2 separate regions of the Homo sapiens genome follow, and region 1 is linked to region 2. The links are contacts of gene promoters, found by promoter capture Hi-C in blood cells and fetal thymus (Javierre and others, 2016). All regions are on one chromosome and are shown on one strand. The core of a region is centred on a gene start or on the middle of the fragment in contact, and the rest is flanking DNA. Distances in the headings are between cores, read along the strand shown.

Region 1 (2,700 bases), core at 167-2,666, 140 kb before region 2:
GAAATGCTTGGAATCACAGGTGTTTCAGATTTCAGATTTTTGGGGGGGCTTTAGAACATTTCCATACACCCACCAGCCGAGCATCCCTAATCTGGAAATCTGAAACTTGAAATGCTCCAACGAGCATTTTCTTTCAGCATCGTGTCAGTGCTCAAAATGTTTTAAATTCTGGAGCATTTTGCATTTCAGATTTTCACATTAGGAATACCTGACCTGTAGTTTTTTTCTTATATGTGTGCTTATCTTTTTAAACTCTTACACTGTCCTGTTTTTAACTATGCTGCCTGAATTAATTACTCTCTTGAACTTTTCATATATTTCTGACCAGGAATAAAAGTGCTGCATCTGCTGCTAAGTGAGTGACTTTGGAAAGGTTCCCTGATCTTCCTTCTTTTCTTTGGTTAAATGGAGGCAAAAATATATACTCTTAGGATTTTCATAGGAATGCAAAGGCAACCTAGTGTTATTAAAATGCCAGGAGTTTGGTCTACGGCCTGCTGCTTGCCACATAAAAACCAGTTACCGAGGCAATGAGTATTGCCTTTAATTGACTGCTGCAGCCGAGGAGATAGGAAATCAATCTCAAATCCATTTCCTTGATTGACTAAAATTAGGGATTTATAGGGCAGGGAAGAAACAGAACCCTGTGTGGCAAAATAGGAATTAGGGAGAGGTAAGGAAGAAGAATTGGTCAACAGCAAGCAGGTGGTTGCTTAAGCAATCATGATGGGTGAGGAGTCTGGCATCTCGTTGTCCAGATGCGGTAGATTGGTAGGTTTTAGTTGTTTTTGACAAGGTTTAGTTCCCTGGCTGGGAATGTATTGCTAGTAACTTGGCTGCTGTGGGCAGGGAGAGTCTCAAAAGTCCTCCTAAGCAGCTGCCCAACACTTTTTTGGCTACAGGTGGGTGTTGGTTTTTCTTTCTCTGGCCCTACCTCTGCCAGCCCCAGCTGTGTTTCTGATTGCCTAGGAAGAGCAGCCTTTGAAATGTGTCATCTGAGTCTGGATGGGTGAATGTCTTTTGTGGGTACCAGACAGTGGGATCTTCTCCTCTCAATTTGGGGAATTCTGGAGGAATTTCCATTTGCAGGTTGAACAAGCCCAACTGATTGATATTGGAACTCGTTGGTTGCTGCAGCAATTGGACAGTGTTTTAGTGATTGCTTGTTTATTTGTGTGTGTTAATATAGTCACAGGAAATCAGAATTTGATAAACTGATAATATTTTGTAGCACTGTTTGGCTTCAGTGTTCTTTGGAATCTGGAGAAGTTTGGCTTCTCCATGGGTCATGCTGTTGAGTGAGACAGTGGAACGGTGTTATGGTGTTACATGTATCTAAGCTTTTAGGCTGCTGTTCTAAGCAGGGTTGGACCTGGTTAGTACATGATGTTCTTCTATAGTGCTGTTTGGCCCTAGTGGTCTTTGGAGCCTGGGGAAATTTAGCCTTTAATAATCAAACGGCCATGGAAACTGCTTTACCCAAATTTTGGTTCAAAGCTTTCATTGGATTACATATTGGGGCAAACAAACTTGAGCCATGTGAACATGTTCCTAAACCAGTGGTTTGGTATTGCTATCTCATGGCTAGAGTTCCAAGGTAAAAGCTATTGGATCTTTGTGTGTGTATGTGTATACATGTTTATATGTGTTTATGTGTATGTACATTTATTATGTTGTATGTTGTGTCTACCAAATTGGCTTATAAATAAAAGAGCATCTTATACACTAAATAAATAAATCTAAGGAATTTTCAATTTTATGTGACTTAAGTAAATGTTTATTTAAAAAGCTGGCTTTAAAGTCATTAGTAATAAAAAAATAAGAATGTCTTAACAGTGTTAGAATACATTTTCGTCTGGGTTTTATAATTGTCTTTGCTAGATACTTTGAGGTGTCAGTGTTTGGCACAGAGGGTTATAAAAGTATAAACCCAGCCAAAACAAAATGATCTTTGTTTGTGTGCCTTCTTTGGCAAATAAGACTAAGTAAATGTTGTTAGTTTAATAAAAACAGTTGAATCTTCTAAGTTATTGGCAAAAATACCTATGTATTTAAGTTGCTTACTTAGGTGAGCACCTAATATTCATAGGCTACAAATAATGGTCAACAGAGCAATAACCTGAAATGACGACTACCTTTGTCTAATATCTCAGTTTTCAGAACCCACTTATATAAATTTTTTTTTTTCTTTTTTTGAGACGGAGTCTCGCTCTGTCGCCCAGGTTGGAGTCCAGTGGCGCGATCTCGGCTCACTGCAAGCTCTGCCTCCCGGGTTCGCGCCATTCTCCTGCCTCAGCCTCCCGAGTAGCTGGGACTACAGGCGCCCGCCACCAGGCCCGGCTAATTTTTTGTATTTTTAGTAGGGACGGGGTTTCACCGTGTTAGCCAGGATGGTCTTGATCTCCTGACCTCGTGATCCGCCTGCCTCGGTCTCCCAAAGTGCTGGGATTACAGGCGTGAGCCACTGCGCCTGACCTATAAATTGTTTAAAAAGATGAAAGAATTGAATACATGTAAATGGGATACATGCTTGTAGGTGAGCTTTTTGTGTAATTTAAAATCTTAAAATTATTTTTGATGCTTCTTGGATGTCTGGCTCATTTCCAGTTAAGAAAGGGTTATGATATGGAGAAACATGTTTTTATAAATTGTGGAATGTTTTCATCTATAAAATGCAAATATTTGATAGACAGTTAAAGA
Region 2 (2,800 bases), core at 58-2,557:
TTACTAGATGAATGCCTGTGTCCCGGATAAAAATGCTTCCAGCCACTTCAGACTCTGTTCTGTCTCTCCAACTGGAAAAGCAATTCTTGTCCTTATATTTGTTTTGGTTGTGTCTTTCCTTGAAAAACTCTCATGCTTTTCTCTTTTTGCCAAGTGTGAATTCTTTTTTTTTAACTAGACATCGGACAATATAGAGTGTAGATTGACTTGCATTTTTTTTCTTTTTGGAATAGGAGAAAATAAAAAGGCAAGAGTAGTCTTAATCCTTGGAAACACTGTCTGAGACATGCATTAAAGGTCAGAAAATTTTATGCCTTTGATTTCTTCTGTGACTATCCTAGTTAATTTTATTATTATTTTTTGTTAGCTCATCTTGGTTGCCACAGGCATTCCAAGAACTCTTTTCAATGCAGTTTTTACCTCTTTGTTCCTCAGACTGTAGACAAGAGGATTAAGTAAGGGAGTAACCACTGTGTAGGTCACTGCCACCAACTGATCCTTGTCTGAGGCAGACTTGGACTTGGGCCGCAGATAGATGATAGAGGCACAGCCATAGTGGACAAAGACCACAGTGAGATGTGAGGCACAGGTGACAAAGGCCTTCTTGCCCTCAGCTGAGGGGATCTTCAGGATGGTGTTAACTATGAAGCCATAGGATATGAGAATTAACAGAAAAGGCACCATAATTACCAGGATGCTGAGGCTAAATAAAGCCAGCTCTTTCACATGGGTGTCAGTGCAGGCTAACTTGATAACAGGTGCCATGTCACAGAAATAGTGGTTAACCCTGTTGGGGCCACAAAAACGCATGTCACAAATGAGGTTGGTGGCCACCAAAGCAATAAAGAAACCTGTGGCTCCTGAGAGAGAAATCAACTCCAACCCCAGCCTTTTGTTTATGATGAGTGTGTACCTCAGAGGGTGACAAATTGCTACATAGCGATCATATCCCATCACAGCAATGAGGAGGCAGTTGGTGCAAGCAAAGCCAAGGAAAAAGAACAGCTGGGTGGCACAGGCCATGAAGGAGATGGTCTTGGTGTCTGAGAGCAGGTGGACCAGCAGCTGAGGGATGATGACAAAAGTGTAGCAGGACTCAGAAAATGAAAGGATGAATAGAAAGCCATACATGGGAGTGTGGAGAGTCCAGCTGAAGCGAATAACGGCCATGATGGTCACATTGGCCACCAGGATTGTCAAGTATAGGAGAAGAAAGATGACAAAAAGCAGCAGCTGGAGCTCCCCCAGGCTGGAGAAACCCACCAGGATGAACTGTGTAACCACAGTGGTTTTGTTGAAACCTCGCATCTGAAGAACTTCTTTCTGTGAATGTGTTTGAAAGAGACAAAATGATAACTATCTTTGTAATACGAACATTTTCCCAACGCCTTCACTTTAAGTATATTGTCAGATTCATAATGTTAACATCTCTTTCTCTTAGTCTATCTAGATATAGATGCCTCTTTAATGATTTTTCCAAAAAATTATTAATCTGAAGTAACAGAGAAATGATTATCTACAGTATATAAATACCCCAAAGTTAAAAGGATCCAACTATTTGACAAAGTGAAAAAATTCTCTCAGTTTAAGAAGAACATTACCTTTAATATGGAATAGAAAATTTAAATTATTTTTCTTGTACTGTATGTATTTGGTCCTTGGATGTATATTCTATCCTAGTAATTTGGTTTCTTTTCCTAATATCACAATCCATTTAATTAGCATTATTGTAAAGGCATTAAAACACTGTGCCTCAGAGCATGAACTCAGGAACAAGAATGCTAGAGTTTGAAACTTGCCTTTGCCACTTAGAGCTATGAACTTCAGTGTGACAATTTTTGTCATTTGTAAGACATAAATAATAATAGAACATATTATATAGGATTGTTGTAAGAACTTAGATGGTATCAGTAAAGTACTTGAAACAGCACTTAACACATAGTAACTCCAATCTATGTGTCAGCTGCTTATGCAGTTAAGGAGTTGAGAGGCAAATATCCTGGTTTGATATTTGAACACTAGAAGAGCCTGGATCCTTAAATCAGGACAGAGTTTCCCTGCATTTGACTCAAGTGTTCTTATCCTTGAGATTCTTTTTTTAAAATTGAGCAAAAATTTAAATATGCACAGTTAAAGAAAGAACTGTTACTTTTACATTAAAAATTATTTTCTTTTTAATTTATTTTTTATTAGCAACTAATAATTATACCTATTTATGGGGTATTATGTGATGTTTGGATACATGTATACATTGTGGGATGATTAAATCAGGGTTCTTTAATAAATCTGCCCTTTTTTATCTAAGGAGTCTATAGCCTTTGAATTCTCTTTCATGATTCTATGACATTTGTTCTGTATGTTTCTGGAACTGTGAAGGGACCCAAGTGTAAAACCTGGGTCACAAGGTTATGATGTATCTGTCTATGAAACAAAATAGATTGATGATCACTAGGGATAGGGGTGGAGCAGGAAGACTTAGGTTAAGTCTTCTCTCTATTGAAGAAAGGAGAGGAAATAACGTGAACACACCTTGAATCTCTTGCAAATAAAATAGCCAGAAAGTGCTAAATGGAAAGAGAAGAGCCTATCTCAGGAACTTCCCATTATTTTATAGTCTAGGTTATTCCTCCTCCCAGAGCCCTAATCATTTTTACTTTCAGAATCAGCTTCAGAGATTCAGGAGAAACCAGATGTAATATTTGCACAACTCAACATCTCCCAACTTGTTGGCTACTTTAATGGCTATAAGATGTTAGGAGTTGTTTGACATGACACACTTGAGTTTGTTCATTGTTCATCA

Evidence for each region. The method cuts DNA at HindIII sites, captures the fragments that hold promoters and counts their contacts. A CHiCAGO score of 5 or more calls a contact.
Region 1: a contact is called between a fragment that was not itself captured here and the fragment with the promoter of OR10T2 in region 2, in 1 of 17 cell types (fetal thymus). The highest score is 10.5, in fetal thymus.

Annotation. Positions count from the first base shown.
Region 1 is chr1:158,260,811-158,263,510 of GRCh38, forward strand. No RefSeq gene overlaps it. Among named protein-coding and RNA genes, the nearest start is that of CD1A, 7.7 kb to the left of the region's middle. The HindIII fragment of the contact is 157 bases long and covers 1,339-1,495 here.
Region 2 is chr1:158,398,159-158,400,958 of GRCh38, forward strand. OR10T2 (olfactory receptor family 10 subfamily T member 2) reads right to left here and starts at 1,308. Exons shown (of 1, transcript NM_001004475.1): 1 at 364-1,308. The coding sequence starts at 1,308. The coding sequence ends at 364. The HindIII fragment of the contact is 4,820 bases long and covers 1-2,800 here.